2 separate regions of the Homo sapiens genome follow, and region 2 is linked to region 1. Evidence: promoter capture Hi-C in 16 types of primary human blood cells and fetal thymus (Javierre and others, 2016). All regions are on one chromosome and are shown on one strand. The core of a region is centred on a gene start or on the middle of the fragment in contact, and the rest is flanking DNA. Distances in the headings are between cores, read along the strand shown.

Region 1 (6,899 bases), core at 2,817-5,316:
CAGGGGAGTTTTGCCACTGTTTCTGAGCTCCTTGGCTTCCCTGTCCAGGAGAGTCCCTGATTACTGAGATCCTTGGATGGGGGAGATGGAGCTCCTGCCCTGGAGAGGTCTTGCCTTGAAATAGAAGATAGGCCAGTGAGGAAGGAAGGTGAGCAGATGGCCAAGCTGAGAGGGACTTTAAGGATCATCTAGAATCTAGATTCCAGGCCAACCCCTCCATTTCGTAGATGAGGAAACTGAGGCTCAGAAGGGAGAAGTGACTAGTCCAAAATGACATGGCCCATAAATGGCAGCACTCAGACAAGAACCCAGGTGTTTGGGCTACTGTTCAGGTGCTCTTTCCACTACAAATGGCAGTGTTTCCTCACACCTAAGCTTCACATCACACCAGACACAGCCTGTTAGTGTCATGGGGCATCATCTCCTCTAACTTCGTCACTATGGCCTTTTCATGCACCACAGATTCTCGCCAATCTTAGTCAATGATCCAGTGAGATGGAGGTTGGTAAGCTTGGGAGGAGGAGTTAGACTTCGTTTATGCTCTCATCTTCCATGCACCCCACTGCTCCAGACCTACTCCTGATTCCCCAGATGAGCCAGGTTCACTCTCTGTTCCTGCTATTTCCCATACATTCACAGGTTCTCACAAACTGCACTTGCCTTACACTTGTCCAACCCCTAACTTGGAAGTTGGGGAATAAAGCTGTGATCTGAGGGATGAACTGGGGATCTTAGTGGGGTTTTCATTCAGGTTGCTCTGGGGAAAAGTGAAACTCTACCCTTGGGTCTTTCTTTCCCGTCACTCCGTTTCAGCTACTCTTTCAGAATGAGCGTCTTCAGTGTCTGGAAATGAAGTACAGAGAGGTAGGTAGAAAAAGTCACATAAAGCAGGTAGGTGATCCAAAGACAGTTCCTGGGGTGCACAGTTTTACCACTGTCCCCTTGGTGGTCTTACCACTCCTGTGGATTGGAGAGCTGGTGGAGTGGGAGAGGAGTTGAAGGAGTAGCCCTTAGCATCCAGTTGGAAGGACAAAGGAATAGAATCTGAGCTGGAAGAGATCTTCATGATCATGTTGTTGGTGCAACCCCCTCATTCAACCAGTGGGAAAATAGACCCTCCTCCCCAAGGGAATCACCTGCTTAAGGTCTCACAGCTCAGTAGTGGCAGAGTTGGAGCCAGAAACCAAGTATCTTGACTTCCCCTCCACAGACCTTTCCACTATAAGTTCCCTTCTGCCAGTAGGGCAGACTCTAAACTCTTCTGATTACCACTGAAGCTCCTTGAAATGTGACTCTGACACTGGCCTCATCTCCCCACAGCTCTTTTCAGTGGCCTGCACCCATGACACTGAAGTACAGGCCACTCTCCAAATATTCCTTGCACTTGCACATCTCTTGCCTTTGCTCATGCTGTTTTCTTAAACAAGAATGCCCTTCCTCTTTTTACCTGCCTGGCAAACTCCTACTCATCCTTCAAGACCCAACTCCAATTCATCTCTGCAGACCTTCTCCTGGGACTCCTCCTTCCTCACTCCCTAGCCAGTTAGTCTCTCCCTCTTGTTTTTTCCCAAAAGTGCTTTGCACGAAGGCTTATTAGAGCACTATACTGTACTGAAACTCTGTGTGTGTGTGTGTGTGTGTGTATGTGTGTGTGTGTATGTGTATGTGTGTAACTGTGCGCTTTAAGGTAAGAGGGCAGGGTCCTGTGCCTCATACATTTCTTTATTTCCCAGCCCTGATACCTAGCAGGCATTCAAGAATAAATGAATCAATGCCTCTTCTCTAAGAGCATTCCCCCGCTCTGGCACACGCACATACATTCATGAAAACAGTTTACAATATTTAAAAAGCAACCTCCAGGGCAGGGCAAAACAGATTTCATTTGGTCTGGGGAAGGGATGGCTCAAAGAAAAGAAGCCATCTCAGTCAGGTGGGGTGAGTCAGAGGAGGAAGAATTCTAAGCCTTCTTTGGAAGCCCAGATGCTCCCTGCACCTGGACCCCATTCAATCCAAAGGGCAAACATTCTTGGCCTCAAAACACCAGCAATGGCTTTGCAACCCTCTTCCCTGTGTACCTACCCAGGGTGTGGCCACATACACCCACCCACTGCACACACACACACAGTCCAACTCCCCAGTCCCTCAGCCTGTGATCTTGCCGTTCAAGTGTTCCTTTCATGATTCTAATCTTGGCTGTATGCTTGGCTCTGTGTCCTTGAGCACTGCATTTACTTCCTCTGAACCTCATCTATAAGATGGGGATAATGATCCCTGCCCTGCCTACCACACATGAGAACTAGAGGAGACAAGAGATGGGAATGTTTTAGAAATTGCAAACATACAAGATAATTATCAGGCAGGCTGGTCACACTGTTTTCCTTTTCTGTCTCCACATCTTTCCTTTCCCCCCATATTACCAAGAACAACCATCTCTGTGTCTCCTTTCCCACTCCAGGTCTCCTAGCCTCAGAAGCAGCCAGGAGGTTCTTATTATTCTTCTTGATTCCCAGGAACCTCACCTTCTCCAGAAGCCTTCCTGTTTCCTACCCTCTATGATCATTCCCGCAGTCCCTTATCATTGAGGGGTACCATTCTGTAGTCCTGTAGCTGGTGGAGAACACATCAGAGGGGGAATCAGGAGACCTGGGTTCCTGCCCCTACTAGGCCAACACGTCTAGCCGTGCGTTTTGGTTAAGTAACTTTATCACTCTAAGTCTATATCCCTCTAGGCCTCATTTTCCTCATCAGTAAGATGGAGTTTCTTGTCTTGCTTCCCTCTTAGAAGGTATTTTGAGCACTCGCACATTAAGTTTATGGATGTGCTTTGAGACGTATAGACTGAGTGAGGGATGGAGAAGGTGATGGTTATCATCTCAAGGAGTCAAGAAAATCTGAAAGCAGCTTCTAGGCCCCCAGCATGGGTCTTCCTCCATCAGGAACAGACAAAGTGGACGGATGCAAGGAAATAAGGAGGAGCTCACACGTTTACAACATGCCTTTGTAGGTGAAGTGGAGAGAGCCCTGGGCTAGGACTGAGGAAACTTGGGTTCTAATTCTGTTTGGTCTCTGTTGTAACCTTAGGTAAATCATCTCCCCTGGGGCATCAGTTTCCCTATATGCAAATTAGTGGAGAGGATTTTAGGAGGGATACTCTGGTGGGCTTTCACGCAAGAACTAAACTCATTTATTTTCGAGATAAGAGACTCTGAGGTCCAATCCCCCTTTCCCCTTCTGTCCCATGGGGTATGCAGGCAACAGGAGCAGGAGGCCCGTTTTACAAATGGTGGCCCAGGAAAAGCGAGCACAAGGCGCAGAGCTGAGGGATGACTGCCCGGGTTTACACAGCCTGTAAACTAGAACTCAAGTCTCCCGACTCCCAGCCTCGACCTATGTTACTGGCAGCAGAAGATGCTTTTGGGAGTCACCAGGTTTCCCGGGACTAGGTCAGACAGGGTGAAGGACACAGTGAGGTGTAGAGGGAATGGGCAAGTCAGCTCCGCAGAGCCGGTGGCTCCAGCCAAATGAGACTGTGCTGGGTCCTGAAATGTCGTTTCTGCGTGTGCACTGGCTGCCAGCTGCAAGTGTTCGCTTGCACGTCTGTGGGTGTGGAGGAACTTTTCTTGTGGCCGTCTTGAGGGCTGGGAATAACGGCGCAAGTCCCCACGGTTTCCAGACGGGGCGCGCAGAGCCCAGCTCCCTACTCCCACATGCTGCTCCACGATCACTGCGCTCGGGAGGATCGGGGAGGATCCGGGAGGACTAGCTTGGTATTTGCAGCGCCCACCCCTCCCCCACTCCCCCTCGGTTCCACAGTCTCACGGAGAGCGCGCCGTGGCCCTTGGAAGGGAGGCGGGAAGACCCCTCATTTCCACCCCAGGCCGCAGCTCAGCCTTCCCAGCTGGGTGGGTGCCTTACCTGCCTCTCAGCAAGGCTCCGGGGCGCCCGTTTGCTCGCTGGACACGGCGCCCTCTGACCGAGGGTGGCCCAAGCGCTGCGACCCTGTGCATTCCACCAGCCCCGTTCCACTCCGCGGGTGCCCAGCACCGCCCAGCGCGCTCTCTGGCTCTGGGCTCCCACCCGCGCTCGGCTCCCTTTTCCCTCCCCCGGGCGTCCCCTCCCCCTGCCCCGCCCGGGCCCCAGCACACCCACTTCTCCCCGGGCTGGCCTGGAGTGCCTCCGCCCAGCTCCTTGGCCTCCCCCGGCTGTGGGCTCCGACCCTTCCGTCCCCTGCAGCGCCTGCTTCCTGGACCAGAGACCGAAAGCCTCTCGCTCCGCTGGGCCTCAGCAAGCCCAGCATGAGGCCGATCTCCAGGAGTCGGTTTTGCTCCAGTGTGGCTGTGTGGTGGTGGGCGAGTCGCTGCCCCTCACTGGGCCTTGGCCTGGCTGTAAAGTTGGTACAGTTCCTCCATGCATTCTTCACAGGCTTATGGTTGAGGTCAGATGAGACCTTTGAGTCCAAAGTATTAAAACCAAAGGGTCAACAGCAAAATAATATGATTCTTACACAAACTCTTTTCCACACAGGACGCAGAGGCCCAGTTGGAGAAGGGATTTGCCCAGGTAGCAGAGCCCAGACCCAAAATCCACTACACACCCCTCTGTCTCTGAGTAGCACCAGCAAATGTTTCCTCCACCAAGCCTCAAAAGTTCGTGACAGTGCCTGACCAACTTGTGTTCAGCCGCACCTTACTCATCTCTGTCCCAGAACAGTTTATTTTCCCACCACCATGCCCTCACTCAAACTGTTGTTTCCTTGCTGGTGACATTGCAGGCTTCAGAGAACTGGGGCAGCCGGGGCAGCTGAGGAATAAGAGCCAGGAGGCTAGTGGCAGAGGAAGGGACAGTTGCAGAGAATTTCTCCGGGGGACCCTGTGGGGTGCCCTTTTACCAGCTCACTGCCTCAGAATAATTAATAACAGCCTCAGGCCAGCTCTTTCACTCCCTTGCAAAGGTCTGCTCCAGGATATCTGAAGCACATACTCTCAATTACAGAATCCCAGAATATATCTAAGAAGTGCTATCGTTTTAAAAAGACCTACTACAAGGTGGGTATATTGTATATTGTATACAATATACAAGGTGGGTATATTGTACCCACCTTGTTTTGACCCTACTATTCCTTTTTCTCAGTCTGGAGATCACCTCTCAGAAAAGTCATCCTAATCACCTAAGCATGCAATCTCAGTTTCCTTCCTTCCTTCCTTTCTTTCTTCCTTCCTTCCTTCCTTCCTTCCTTCCTTCCTTCCTTTAGACAGGATCTCACTGTGTCACCCAGGCTGGAGTGCAGTGGAGTGATTATGGCTCACAGCAGCCTTGAACTCCTGGGCTCAGGTGATCCTCCTCCCTTAACCTCCTGAGTAACTGGGACACACCACTATGTCTGGCTAATTTTTGTATTTTATAGAAATTGGGTTACTCCATGTTGCCCAGGCTGATCTCGAACTCCTGGGCTCAAGTGACCTGCACACCTCCACCTCCCAAAGTTCTGGGATTACAGGCATGAACCACTGTGCCCATCCTGCAACCTCAGTTTTCAATCTGCCTAAGAATCCCCTGGGGAGCTTGTTTTACTAAGTAGACTTTTGGGCTCCACTCCAGAGGTTCTAATTCAGGAAATCTGGAGTAGAGCCTAGAAATCAGCATTTTCAAACAAGATTTCCAAATGACTCTGATGCAAATGGTTCTTGAGACTAGCCATGAGGAAGCAGTCCTGGCTTGGTCAGGGTTCTTTCTCAGATCCTGCCCACGGCCTTGCATTTACTCTGTAGGACTGTCTATGACAGTTATAGAAAGTAACCATTTGTCCACCCCATCTGCTAGGTTGTGAGTTCTTTGAAGATAGGGATTGTCTTTTGTTCTAATAAAATCTTAGAACCAAAGTCTTAGAATCATATCATCTTAGGGTTCTGGAATGTAAATTGGAAGAACTCTCAAGAGTTTCCTAGTCAAATCCCTCATGAGCCTAACAGATTCTCCCATTTCTTTATTTTTGGAAACATATCACCCAGGCTGGAGTGCAGTGGTGTGATCTCAGCTTACTGCAAACTCTGCCTCCCAGGTTCAAACAATTCTTGTGCCTCAGCCTCCTGAGTAGCTGGAATTACAGGTGTACCACCACACCCAGCTAATTTTTGTATTTTTAGTAGAGACGGGGTTTTGCCATGTTAGCCAGGCTGGTCTCGAACACTTGACCTCAAGTAATCTGCCCGCCTTGGCCTCCCGAAGTGTTGGGATTACAGGTGTGAGCCACCACACTCTGCCTCTATTTCATTTTTGAAATGAGGCTATCCAGCTTCTCTTGCACACCTCTAGGGAGCTCAATGCCTGCAAGGCAGCCAGACAGCTCTGATTGTTAGGATGTTCTCACATTTTAACAAAAACTGCTTCCTGTTGACTTCTACCCTTTGGTCCTTGCACCCATTGGAGACATGAAATAGAAGTCTGATCTGTGTTCCCTTTTACAGTCTTTCAAGAATTTAAGGTCGGCCAGGAGCAGTGGCTCATGCCTGTAATCCCAACACTTTGGGAGGCTGAGGTGGGTGGATCACTTGAGCTCAGGAGTTCAAGACCAACCTGGATAACATAGTGGGACTTCATTTCTACAAAAAATAAAAAAATTAGTTGGGCATGATGCTATGTGCCTGTAGTACCAGCTACTTGAGAGGCTGAGGTGGGAGGATTGCTTGAGCCCAGGAGGTTGAGGCTGCAGTGAGCCAAGATTGTGCCACTGCACTCACTACAGCCTAGACAACAAAGTGAGACCCTATCTCAAGAAAAAAAAAATTTGCTGGGCGTGGTGACTCACGTCTGTAATCCCAGCACTTTGGGAGGTGGCGGATCACGACGTCAGGAGTTCAAGACCAGCTTGCTCAATATGGTGAAACTCCGTCTCTACTAAA
Region 2 (6,970 bases), core at 196-2,695, 210 kb before region 1:
TCTTGGAGCCAACTCTGCTGCTCCAGCTGGCCACCCCATCAGCAGCCAGAATCAACTCATTCTCAGTCTGGGGCCAGGGCTCAGAAAGTTATGTCAACTCAAGAGGCTCCCTTATTCCTCGAGCTGGCTTCCTCTCCCAGCAGTTTGCTAGAAAACTCCAGCCCATAGCCAGGCAAAACCTTGTAACCCAAGACTAGCAGAAAGGCTGGATTCTTCCAGGTGCAGGCAATAGGTGACTGAGGAGTGAATGGAGTGTTGACAGAGACAGTTTCTTCCTGATTAATGAGAATGATGCCATTCCATAATGACTTATAGAATGACTAATCAAACAAGCTTAGAATAACTGACATGATACAGTCTGTATCATTTATAAAGCACGTTTACAACCTTTGAGACCTCCTAACTCCTCTGGAGTGGGGAGGGCAGACAAATCAGCAGTGCCTCCTACAGATGAGGAATTCGAGGGTCTGACAAGGAAAGTGATTTGTCCAGGGTCATACCTTAGCACAATCTGGACTAGAGCTCAGGCCACCTGACTTCCAGACGAGTGCCTTTTTAGTCCCACACCATAGCAGAAGGAGAGGAGGGGTGGGGCAGGGGCATGGAGGACTAGGACCTGATAATGAGAGGAATGCTCCAAGCTCAGTTCAGCCTCCTACTAGCTGGGTGACCTCTGGCACATCACTTCCTTCAGAACTTCAGGTTCTGCATCCCAAAATGGGGGGATAATCCTTAATTCACTAGGTGTTATGAGGGTTAAATGAGACCTAAGTATCCAAGTATAGTAAAAGCTGCTGCCTGCAGTAATAAGGTGAAAAACAGTAAATGCCATGGTGCTAAGAAGATAAGGGGATTCATTCATCCTGACTGGGAATCCCCACAGGGCGGGGAGACCAAGGCACAGCAATTCTACCCCTACTCCTGCTGGGTAGGGCTGCTCAGGCAGAATTAGTGGAAGCCGGTGTGCCCCTGGGGCCTGAGAGCAGTGGCCCATGCTGCATCCTCCCTGGGACGTCCTTCTCAAAAAACTTTTGGCTGGGCACGGTGGCTCACGCCTGTAATCCCAGCACTTTGGGAAGCCAAGGTGGGCAGATAGTGAGGCTTGGCCAACATGGCGAAACCCCGTCTCTACTAAAAATACAAAAATTAGCCGGGTGTGGTGGTGGGTGCCTGTAATCCCAGCTACTCAGGAGGCTGACGCAGGAGAATTGCTTGAACCCAGGAGGCAAAGGTTGCAGTGAGTGGAGATCATGCATGCCACTGCACTCCAGCCTGGGCGACAAGAGCAAGATTCTGTCTCAAACAAAACAAAACAAAACAAACAAAAAACTTTTAACCAGGATTTTTTAAAAAAATAGTAAACTCTACCTAACACAGTATTTCTCATTTTAACCATGTGGAAATGAACAGTTCAGTGGCATTAATTACATTCACAAGGCTGTGGACCACACCACTATCTATACCCCAACTTTTTCATCATCCCCAGCAAGAACTCTGTACCCATTAAGCAATAACTCCTGCCTGCGTCCCCAAGCTCTATTCTGCTTTTGGTCTCTGAATTTGCCTATTTTAGGTAGCTCATAGGTGGAATCCTACAATATTTATTTTGTGTCTGGCTTATTTCATTTAGCATAATGCTTTCAAGTCCATCCATGTTGTAGTGTGTATCAAAATTCTGTTCCATTTTATGGCTGAATATTTTATTAAATGCATATTCCATATTTTGTTTAGCCATTCTCTTGACGGACATCTGGGTTTGCTTCCACCTTTTGACGATTGTGAATAAAGCTGCTATGACCATGGGTGTACAGCTATCATTCCATTCTTTCAGATACATACCTGGGAGTGGAATAACTGGGTCAGATGACAGTTCTATGTTTATCTTTCTGAGAAATCACCAATCTGTTTTCCACAGTGGCTGCACCATTTCACATTCCCACCAGCAACGCATGAGAGTTCCAGTTTCTTCACATCCGTAGTGACACTTATTTTCTGTTTTTTAATTGTATCCATCCTAGGAAGTGTGAAGTGGTTCCTTATTTGCATTTCAAGACTGCAAATGTGGAGGGAGAAGGAGGGCTTTAGGGTCAGAAATGTGGGCTGATGCTGGCTGGCCCAGGGACTTGGGGCTTGCCCTACCTGTCCCACCCCAACATCATAAGAGACAGAGGGACCCAGGGAGCTGGATAGGGAGGGAGGGTGTCTCTAGCCCCAGGCCCTGGAGGGTTCACAAGGCTTAGCAGCTCACACAGTGGCAGCAGGATAAAACCATTCATTCAGGGTGAGCCCGCTGACAATTCCTGTTCCCCTTTTTGTTGCAAGAGAGTAAAAAACAGAGATTCTAGAACCCCAGAATCTGGAGAGAATTGTGAGAGTTTCTCACAATTGGGAGGGGGGCCCCTTAGGGGACCATGTACAATTTTTAAAAGAAGATTTAATGTAATTTTTTATTTGGTAAATGGAAAAATAATGTTTTTCCAAAAAACAGATTACAGATCATAAAGTTAGACAAAATCTTTTCTCCTAGAGTGATATATCTGCATTTGTAAGACTAAAGAAAGCTTTAGGTTTATCAAAAGAGCACAAATGGTTTTATTAGGTTGGTGCAAAAGTAATTGTGTTTTTTTACCATTAAAAGTAATGGCAAAAATTGCAGTTACTTTTGCATCAACCTAAATAAGAGTTGGACAAATGTTAATCTAAGGACCTGTGAGTTAGGGTGATAAGCCTTCACACCTCCATATGCACATATGGACCTCCTTATCCTTCAATATGCAAACCAAAACTCACATGACCCCCATCACATGAAAGACATAATCATGTCTCACGACTTTGGTAATGACACAGGATTTTTCCCAGCTACTTGCCAACTGGGGACCTCCATGGCCAGCGATGCCCCCTGCCCAGGCCTCACGTGGCCACAGACCTGCCTCTAGAGGTGCCATGCCCACTGACCCACCTGTGCTATAGCTTGTACCCGCATTCAGGGGTTCTTGAGCTCTTGCCCCATGTCCAAGAAGAATGAGGATATGTGACAATTTGAAGAGTGAGGATGGGCAGAGAAGAATTTAAATGAGTGATGGAAAAGCTCTCAGTGGAGATGGGATGTGAGGGGTGGTCCCCAACCCCTGCAGACAGGTGGTTTCTCTATCTCTCTCTGCCTGGGTCTGGGGCTTTTTATGGACTCAGAATGGGGAGCGTGTGCTGACTGGCTTGTGAGTATGCAAAAAAGGTTAAAGCAAAGACACCATTCACAGTATAAAAAAAAATTAGGAAAGGGTAGGTATATGTAAAATAGGTGAAAGGTGGGGAGCAATCAGAGGAAAGCACACTGAATGGGAAAACAGGTTCTTAATCTGGTCCATGGGTTTACCTGGGACTTGTAGCTAGACTTTACACTGTCTTTGGCTTGAAGGTTGGGTTTCACTGGGGACCTGACCCTATCTGCCTAGGCATTTGTCTGCTTCCTGCCGTTATCAATAACATGTTATATGTTCCTCTTTCACTAGTATTTTGCTGGGATTGTAACTATTTTCACATATGTCAGTATTTTCACTAGTATTTCACTAGTATAGTCACTGTGGGTTCTCTTTTCTGGGAGCTCTTCAAGGTCAGAGACTCAATCAGTCATCCCAGCATCCTCAGCCCCAGCAAAGGTCCTGACCCAGAGGCAACATCAGGAATGCTTAGCTGAATGAATAAATGACAGGCCACACATGCAGTCTGTGCTCATTAAAATACCATCAAATATTGGTACCATTATTTGCCCACTGTGCAACTGTTCCAAGAAGCACCTATGGCGCTTTGGAAAAAGCATGGGTCTCTGAGCCAGGAAACCTTGCTTCTAGTCTTGAGCTGACACTGACACACAGCGTAATTATGGGCAAGTTGCTTTACTTTTCTGGGGCAGGGGAACTAACTACTGCCCTCCAGTCCCATAACGTGATAAGCAGATGAACAGGAGACATGGTGGTCATTATTTTTTAGTTATGCTCCATCTGAAAATGTGGTGGGCTTTAAAGATGGTAGAGATGTCATTATCTATGGGGCTCCATCTGAGCGATGCCCTTGAACCCTTAACCAAAAACACTGTCACCACGCAGGCATCTAGTGCCTAGAATCCACTCCTAGTACCTCATTCCTTTGAGATAATCCTTGATTACACCAGGCTACCCATTTCTAATGCAAACATGCCCCTGTCAAGGACAGGGAAACTCTGTCACTCAAACCTTAGGGAGAATGGGCAGATCAAGCACTTGATAGGAGGGGTCCTGTGACCAATGAAGTGAATATAAAGAGGGATGTGGCAGAGAGAAAGAAGGGAAAGAGGCAGGCTCTGATTCCAAAGGGGGAGAAAATTGTGGGGGTCCACAGTGGGGAAGAGAGAAAAGTCCAGAAAGAGGTTAGAAGCAGTTAGGGGAACGGGGAGACTTTCCCCCAAGCTCCAGATCCTGGTTCTGCCCCTGGCTGTGTGAACTCAGTGATGTCTTTTCTTTAAACCCCATTTTCCTCCTTTGCCAAAAGAGATGATAACTGTTGTGAATATGATACAGGAGAGTGATCCATGGCAAAGAGTAGGCACATATGTTTGTTTCCTCCCCCTAGCCCTTAGCCGATTTCATAGTTCTACTGAGTACACAGCAATCTGCAGGTAAATGTCCCTCTCTCCCCACCCCAGCTCCTACACTCAGGCTCCTTTGGCTTCTCCCAGCTTGAGCAGCCAAGGCCCCCAACAGGAGACTCTTTCAGTGGTTCCATGAAAGGGCAGTTTGTGCTGCCGTTGGCATTACTGGACAAGAGTCCCCCAGAATCAACACCCTCTTGCTTCCTCCTCCCAGACAGCTCTCTCTGCTCCCCTGTTGTGTGTGAAAGAGGGACAAGCAGGGTGGCCGCTGCACCTTGTGCTCTACAGGCATGCATTCTTACTCTTTCCATGTGTTCCTGGGGCTCCAACATGGATACCCTCAGCATATTCTGGCCATAGGGCCCTACCCTCTCTCCAAGCTCCCACAATCCTTAGGATGAGCAGCACACAGCTTCCCACTTGATTCTATCCAATTCTCACTTACATTTGGGCATGGACCCGCTCTGCCTTAAGGGCAGTGAGCAGGTCGTCTTCTTTTCTTGGATTCTCATGGAGCAGCTAGCATGGGCAGATCACTCGACAAGTGTTCACCGTTCATTTGTGGAACTGATTCATTCCTATATTCAACAGATATCTACATCTGACAAGAGTTCTTAACCATTAGGCATCAGTGGCACAAGGGATAGACCTTTTCAATACCTGGGAAAATGTTGGAGACCCCCCCTGCCCTAAAATTATTGGCTCCAAAAGATTATTGCCAATGGAAGCACAGAAGTGACAGCAAAATAACATGGAATGCAGACAACAGAGGGTTAGTTAAGGTCTTTGGTGACAGATTGACATGGATTTGAATCCTGCCTCTGCTATTTTATACTTGGATGACTTCAGGCAAGTTATATGTTCTCTGACTCAGTTTCCCTCATCTATAAAATGGGCATAATAGAACTCATCTCATTTTGAGGCTTGAAGGAGACAAATACACCTAAGTTCTCAGCACAGTGCCTGGCCTATCATAAATGATGTGGTTACAAATGATAATGATAATAGACTTTAATGTAAAGAATATTATCTGGAATGAGGCTTGCAAGTGATAAGTAGTGCAGTGCCAGAAACCCCGGTTGGACAAGGCTGTTGGAAAACAGCTCACAGAACAGTGCAAGAAAGAAAGAAACAGGCTGGGTACTGTGGCTCATGCCTGTAATCCTAGCACTTTGGAGGCTGAGGCGGGAGGATCACTTGAGCTTAGGAGTTCGAGAAAGAAAGAAACAAAATTATAAAAAAATCAATGCCCCAAGCCACAGTTGACCCTACTTAGAATTAGATATCTATCTATCTACTAAGTGGGGCCCAAGGCCATGCCACTTTATCAGGACTAGTCAGATTCAGGGGGTATGGAGACTAGTGCAAATACAGAATTAGGCAAACATAATAATTAGTGCAAATATAAGAATTAGGCCTTTCCACTCTAGGAGTGATGTGGCTTTGAAAGCCATCTGGTGGAAAGAAGACTGGTAAGGGAGACAGACCAGTCCCAGCTCATGAAGCCCCAGGAAGCCACTAACCATTCCTACCTCACTTTCCACAGTACCTGCTATGCTCTCCTCCCTGGGGAGGTGAAGTTCAAGTGGAGTGGTAAAGCGTTTTGAAAATGAACATGCTGGCCAAAAGTAAGGTGTTGCTATCCCTACAGCATGCCCCCTAATACATGCAAAGCCTGGTCTCTCCTTCTCAGCCTCTAGGGACCCTGCTCATCTTCAAGATTTGCTCAAGTCCCTCCTTCCCATGAAACTTCCAGGGGTGAGGGGAGCCTCTTAATGCAGCCTGTTCATGTCTCCACTCGTGGCCACATGGTTTCATGATGATTTGAGGGTCTGCTCCATTTCTAGGGGCAGGGTCAGCATCTAATTCTCCTTTCCCTCCCTAGTGCCAGCAACGGCCTGGCACTGAGTATGCACCTTGTCAGTGTGACTTGAATAAACAAATGAGGCTTTCTCAACTATCCCAAATCCCAAGGCTCCCCTACCTCTTGATGGCAGCATTCAGTGGTAGTTCACCTCTTTCTGCATGCAACATTTTCACATTGTGCTTCAATGACACTGAATGCAGGATGCATTTTGTCTTATCCTCCTACTGGCCCAGCTTCCAGGGCTCTATCCTCTGTATCCCCACAGCACCCACTGAGCCCAGGGCCTGCGCCTGAGGATTACTCATTAAGCAGTTATTAATTTGCAGCCAGACTTTCCTGTGTCTCAGTCGCCTGGTCAAGATGTTTGATAACTGCCCCATCTCAGACATTAAAAGCACAAGATTTGGGGCCAGTCTGTGGCACTCTCAACAAGTGACTTAACTCTATAAAACTGCCTCCTTATCTGTAAAATGGGGATA

Evidence for each region. Contacts are between HindIII fragments. The CHiCAGO score rates a contact against its expected background, and 5 or more counts as called.
Region 2: a fragment that was not itself captured here is called in contact with the fragment with the promoter of KCNE3 in region 1 in 5 of 17 cell types (megakaryocytes, M2 macrophages, naive B cells and 2 more); the score reaches 5.8 in megakaryocytes.

Annotation. Positions count from the first base shown.
Region 1 is chr11:74,463,483-74,470,381 of GRCh38, forward strand. KCNE3 (potassium voltage-gated channel subfamily E regulatory subunit 3) reads right to left here and starts at 4,067. Exons shown (of 3, transcript NM_005472.5): 1 at 3,916-4,067. The HindIII fragment of the contact is 7,698 bases long and covers 509-6,899 here.
Region 2 is chr11:74,258,084-74,265,053 of GRCh38, forward strand. It overlaps a transcript of P4HA3 not described here. Among named protein-coding and RNA genes, the nearest start is that of P4HA3-AS1, 50 kb to the right of the region's middle. The HindIII fragment of the contact is 2,228 bases long and covers 332-2,559 here.